Linked DNA regions of Homo sapiens: region 2 is linked to region 1. Evidence: promoter capture Hi-C in human tissues and cell types (Jung and others, 2019). All regions are on one chromosome and are shown on one strand. Each heading gives the region's core, a stretch centred on a gene start or on the middle of the fragment in contact. The rest is flanking DNA. Distances are from core to core; before and after follow the strand shown.

Evidence for each region. The method cuts DNA at HindIII sites, captures the fragments that hold promoters and counts their contacts. A contact is called where the count stands out against the background at its distance.
Region 2: a contact is called between a fragment that was not itself captured here and the fragment with the promoter of CREG1 in region 1, in 1 of the 25 tissues and cell types used here (adrenal gland).

What each region holds. Positions count from the first base shown.
Region 1 is chr1:167,552,142-167,555,396 of GRCh38, reverse strand. It overlaps CREG1 (cellular repressor of E1A stimulated genes 1), which reads left to right and starts at 1,635. Exons shown (of 4, transcript NM_003851.3): 1 at 1,635-2,009. The coding sequence starts at 1,656. RefSeq lists a silencer at 1,497-1,946. The HindIII fragment of the contact is 6,052 bases long and covers 1-3,255 here.
Region 2 is chr1:167,492,833-167,496,087 of GRCh38, reverse strand. The region is part of intron 1 of CD247 (CD247 molecule); the gene reads left to right. Among named protein-coding and RNA genes, the nearest start is that of CD247, 24 kb to the left of the region's middle. The HindIII fragment of the contact is 6,253 bases long and covers 1-3,255 here.

The DNA.
Region 1 (3,255 bases), core at 386-2,885:
AGCACTATTCACAACAGCTAAGATTTGGAAGCAACCTAAGTGTCCATCATCAGATGAATGGATAAAGAAAATGTGGTATATATACACAATGGAGTACTATTCAGCCATAAAAAATGAATGGGATCCTGTCTGTCTTTGCAACAACATAGTTGGAACTGGAGGTTATTACGTGAAGTGAAATAAGCCAGGCACAGAAAGACAAACTTCACACATCCTCACTTATTTGTGGGAGCCTAAATGGAAACAATTGAACTCATGGAGACAGAGAGTAGAGGGATGGTTACCAGAGGCCAGGAAGGGTAGTGGGGGGACTTGCAGGGGAGGAGTGGGGATGGTTAATGGGTACAAAAAATAGTTAGAATAAGACCTAGTATTTCATAGCACAACAGGGTGACTATAGCCAATAATAATTTAAGTGTACATTTAAAATAACTAAAAGTATAATTGGATTGTTTGTAACACAAAGGATAAATGCTTGAGGCAATGGATACCCCATTTACCCTGATATGACTATTATGCATTGTATGCCTGTAGCAAAATATCTCATGTACCCCATAAATGTATACACCTACTATGTACCCACAAAAATTAAAAATTTTAAAATAAGTAAATAAAAAGTTTTTTAAAGGTCTTGAACTTTCGGGCTTCTGCCTAACTTTACTACTAGTGTAAGTGGGCCCCTTGAGATTTCAGCACCCCAGCATTTGTTAGTGACTGAAATAATGAAAATTCTGATCAGGCCCTTGCTTGCACATGTTGACAACTCTCTTTTTGCCCAATATCCCTTGTTCCTACAACATAATCATAAACTGCTGATGTACTGTTTCTTTATCAAGCAGGAGGAGATAATAACTTCAGGGTTACGAAAAAGTTTGCAGGAGGAATAAGTCCTTTGAAGTACTTTGAGGCCAGCTTCTGTCGCCCAGAAGTCTGATTGTTCAAGGAATTATCTGAGACTGAAGAAACACAGACTTTTTCCCTCGATTCCCTGAAACTCCCCCTCCCTGACTCGCTGGCCGCATAAACACTCTCTGCTTCTTCTTTTTGTTAGGGCGGATTTGAGAGATCTTGCCCTCCCGCCTTCTCGCTTTGGCCAAATCGAATAAACTTTTATCTCCAAGCACCTATATGTCAGTGTTTGGCATCAGCTACACATGGGGTACACGAGCCTGAGTCTGGGCTTCTACAACGCTGGGACCCTCGCTGTTCTTTGGAGCTGATGGTAAATTCAACAGAAAAGAGGCGCATGGGTAGAAAATGCAGCATTTCCTCTCAGATGCCAGATATTCATCTCCAAAGGTATTAAAAGGAGGGGGTGTGTGCCTGTGTAAAGAGGCTGGTCTTTTCCTAGCAGTACGATTTGGGCAAGTTGCTTGATTTCTTCAAGCCTTTCTTTTTCCGCCTGTCAAACAAAACAAAACAAATATCCCGTTTAGGACAAATTCACAATCCTTAAAGAGGGCAGGCAGAGCGATTGGAATGCAGATGAACCAATCCCTTCTCCTGCAGGTTGCGGAGCTGCAGAGGGACCCCGCCCCCTGCATTGTGCTTAGCTCTGATTGGCGCCTCGCGGAGGGGGCGGGGCCTGGGCGCGCCGAGCTCCGGCTGGGTCCCTGCAGGTCTTGGGGCCCGGGACTCTTCCTGGAGACACCGCCATGGCCGGGCTATCCCGCGGGTCCGCGCGCGCACTGCTCGCCGCCCTGCTGGCGTCGACGCTGTTGGCGCTGCTCGTGTCGCCCGCGCGGGGTCGCGGCGGCCGGGACCACGGGGACTGGGACGAGGCCTCCCGGCTGCCGCCGCTACCACCCCGCGAGGACGCGGCGCGCGTGGCCCGCTTCGTGACGCACGTCTCCGACTGGGGCGCTCTGGCCACCATCTCCACGCTGGAGGCGGTGCGCGGCCGGCCCTTCGCCGACGTCCTCTCGCTCAGCGACGGGCCCCCGGGCGCGGGCAGCGGCGTGCCCTATTTCTACCTGAGCCCGCTGCAGCTCTCCGTGAGCAACCTGCAGGTGAGCTGGGGCCCGCGGCTTCCCCAGGCGGGCTGTGGGCGGGGCGGCCACAGAGCGAGCCTTCACTCTCCCCAGAATTCTTCCCGGGAAGTGGAGCGTGGCTCGAACGGCTGTTGCTTCTCTGCCGCGCAGGCAGGTAGGTGGGCGTTGCAGCGTCCCAGATGTTGGGCAGCTGGGTACCAGGAATTTCCCACAAGCCTCCGCCACTGGGCCACGCACCTGGGGTAAATTCTCTGCCAGCAGCCCGAGGACTTCTCATCCGTGAGTGGTTCTCAGTCGTCTTGGGGCCCAGTGTCTCTATTAACTGTGCTCCTATTCTCTTTTTTTTTTTTTTTCCCTTTGAGACAGAATCTCACTTTGTGGCCCAGGCTGGAGTGCAGTGGCGCTATCTCAGCTTACTGCAACCTCTGCCTCCCAGGTTCAAGCGATTCTCGTGCCTCAGCCTACCGAGTAGCTGGGATTACAGGTGCGTGCCACCACACCCGGCTAATTTTTGTATTTTTAGTAGAGGCGGGGTTTCACCATGTTGGCCAGGCTGGTCTCAAACTCCTGACCTCACGTGATCCACCCATCTCAGCCTCCCAAAGTGCTGGGATTACAGGCGTGAACCACCGCGCCCTGCCTGGGCTCCTATTCTTAAAGGTTTTACAGGGCATAGAGATTGTTAGGTACTTAAGCACTTTAATATGTGACTTCAGGGTTTCTCACTCTCTTACCCTTCCTGAATTAAGCTTTTCCCTCCTGCAGCAAGACGCTAACGTACAATATCATGGACGATTACAATGATTACTGCAGTCTTTAGGCCTCCACAGGCATAGTGGCTCCTCAGTAAGATGCAGAGCTGATTGAAGGTGTATCTCTTCCTCGCCCTTTGCCCACCTTCTGGTGCAGGGCCACACTTACAACTCTGATGGATCTCTGCTGTCTCAGGGATGGGGTCACAGACACCCAGCTTGGGAGGCCGGAGACACACAGAGTCCAGGAATGGAGCCTGATTTGATGGAGGGTCTTTTTGACAAAGCTCTCACATTTGAGTTCAACTCTGAAAGTACAACATTGTTGATAAAGACAGGATGCAAGAAACTGATGCTTGATTAATCACTTTTCCATTTGCCTTCCATTCGTTGTCTCTTCTATTAATTCTTTGAAGTAGGTATTATATACCCCATTCTGCAGATGAAGAACTTGAGGCCTACCTAGGTTAAGTAACTTGTTTAAAGCCAGCGGGCAAACCCCTAGTTTCATC
Region 2 (3,255 bases), core at 322-2,821, 59 kb after region 1:
CTAGGTGCTTTTGAAACAATCATGAACAAACTGAACCACAGCAGCAACAAAATCCCAGATCCCATATAGAACTAACAATTAAAGACGGAGACAGGCAATAAACGAGGTAAACTGAAAAATATGTAGATAGTTGTGATACATGCTGAGAAGAAAAATAACACAGAGAAGGTGCATAGGAAGTGTCAGGCTGGTGGTGTGGGGATACAGTTTTGGGTAGGGTATGCAGGGATGTCCTTGCTAAGATGGTGGCATTCTAGTCAAACCCAGAAGGAAGTGAGCGAGCAAGCCAAGTGGGAACCTGGAGAAGACGGAGGTGGCAGTGCAGACTGGCATGTTCCTGGAACTGCAAAGAGGTGGTATGAGTGAGGGGAAGGCCAGTAGGAGGTGAGGTCAGACGTATTGAGTTCTGGGGGTTTGGGGAGAGAGTGACAGTTGCAAACAAGCTTGAAGGACATTTTGCTCTAAGTGAGATGGAGGTCAAGGACTTGGAGCAGAAAAGATACATGATTATATGTTTTGGCAGGATCATTCTAGCAGCTGGGCAAGGAACATGCTGAGGGGGAATAAGGGCAGAAGTAGGCATTACTTAGTGATGTTTGTTCAAGAAACATCTGTTGCGCTCCTATATGCCAAGCACTGCGTAGGTGATAAGGATTAAACGGGAGCACACTCTTCTTCCCTCTGGTAGGTTACTGTAACAACTACTCCCACCTCTGTCATTTATGAGTATTTACCCAGTCCCAAGCTCTGGGGTGAGCACACCCGTCCATTATTGCATTTATTCCTCTCAGCAAACTGTAAGGTAACAACCTCAGGATATCCTCATTTTACAGTTGAAGAAACTGAGGCTTAGAGAGGTTATGTAACATATCGTAGACCACATAGATACTAGGTAGACAGCCAAGATTTAAACCCAGGACTGTCTCACTCCAAAGCCTGCAATACTAACCACAATGCTGTTGCTGGAAACTTTTTCTTACGCTGGACTTTGAAAGTTCACCTAAGACAGCATGAGAAGTGATGGTATCTTCCAGGCAGCCACCTGGGCCACCAGCCCTCCCCTCCTTGGGATCTGCCTTCCCACTTTGTCTGAATTGAGGGTCCAACACTGCTCCTCGGACACAAGGTCCAGGTGGGGAGAGAACAGAGTCCAGCCCAGCCAAGGCAAGTCACCTGGGCTCTCTGGAACCCGGACTGCTTTGCTGTAGAGTAAAGTCCTGGAATAGGTCTCTAACCCTCTTTCCAGCTCTGAAATCCAAGGCGTATGTGATCTGAGGTAATAATTGTCTTGCCTCTCATGCTTGGTTTTTGATGAGACCTTCACATTCTTTAATAAACATTTATCTGTATCCAGGAATTATAGGAGATACAAAATGCCGAGGAATGCACTACTCATGATCTTTTTTGATCCTTTTAACAATCCAGAGACATGGGCTGTGTAAAGCCACAGTGCAAAATACAATTAGGAAAACACAGCAATAAGACCACTGTAGCTTTGAATGGTGCTGTTCACTAATTATTACCTCCCCACCCATTTTCTCATCTGACCCTCACAGCAGCCCCATGAGGTCGACAGGGTGAGGACATTATCCCCATATCACAGATGGGAAAACTGCAGCCCAGGGAGCTATGCGATTTCTCCCGAGGTCCTCCTCACACTAGTGTAGTGGAGCCGCTATGTTTATTGACCCCAAATCCAAGTCAACCCAACAGTCTCTAGAACGTTCCAATTACCTGGCCAGTCCTCACTTAGATAACATCGGACTCTTTCAGAAAAGATTAAACAAATCCTCTATTTGTTGACAGAGGTTTTGCTGAACTGGCCCTGGGGATCCGAATTGATCATGGCCATCAACACAGGCAGCAAAGACCCTTCAGAAGTGTTTTATTCACTAGCCACCTCCATCCCCCAACCCTCCATCGTCTAAAGTGTCTCCTGACTCAGTTCTGTCCCCCTGCTTGTCCTCTTCTCCTATTAGCTCTGGGTACCCAGTCCAGATCATAGCCCCAAGCTCTGTCATCATTTTGCAGCCTCCAGCCTCCCCCACCCAACTCAGCAGAGCCCTGAGAAGAAAGTCCTGGGTCCCGGAGGCTGCACCTGCAGACACAACAGATTCTGCAATGGTGAGAGCATATAGGGTATTTTGGGTCTCCAGTGGGGTTTTTGCTGATTCTGTGCCTGACCAGGGCACATGCTTCCTGGAATTAATAATTCTAGATAAAGAAGCCTAGCAGATGCCCACCTATGGAAAATGCTTCTTAAACAAGAAGAATCTCAGAATTAGGAGGCCAGCTTCTTGTTCTCAGCACTGCCCCTAACTAGCTGTGGGGCCTCGGACACGTCACTTGATGCCTCTGGTCCTGTTTTCTTCTGTACATTATGGAGGATTTGGACAGAGATGATCAGTAAGGTCCCTTCTAGCCAGACTGTCAAGGTTCAAATCCTAGCTCTGCCACATTCCAGCTGTGTGATCTTGGACAAGTTACTTTATCTTTCCTAAGCCTCAGTATCCCCAACTATAAAATGGGCACAATAGCACCTATCTCATATGGCTGTTGTGAGGACCCAAAGATACAATGAATGTCAGCCCTCAGCACAGGGCCTGGCACAGAGACAGTACTCAGCTAAGTAACTGTTTCTAAGTTGTTTATGATTTGAAGCTAAGGATAGAGATGCTTATTCTGAGAAGCAGAAAGGAACAGATGGAGAAGGAAAAAGGAAGATGGGACAAAAGGAGAAAAACTGGCCAGGTGCGGTGGCTCACACCTGTAATCCTAGCACTTTGGGAGGCCGAGGCTGGCGGATTGCCTGAAGTCAGGAGTTCGAGACCAGCCTGGGTAATATGGTGAAGCCCTGTCTCTACTAAAAATGCAAAACTTAGCTGGGCATAGTGGTGGACACCTGTAATCCCAACTACTCAGGAGGCTGAGGCAGGAGAATAGCTTGAACCCAGGAGGTGGCAGTTGCAGTGAGCCGAGATCGCACCACTGCACTCCAGCCTGGGCGACAGAGTGACACTCCATCTCAAAAAAAAAAAAAAAAAAAAAAAGGAGAAAAATTAGGGAAAATAGGGCAAAATTGGGGGTGGAGAAAGGCAGGAAAAATTTGAGGGCAGCAACTGCAATAACTTCAACAGAAAAGTAGAACAATAAGCATACAGCCCCAAAATACTCAGCCCCTTTCCTGCCTCCCCTTCCTCTCTGCCCCTAGCAGACGCCATGATAGCTCCTGGAATGATGCCTTTTATAACTGTG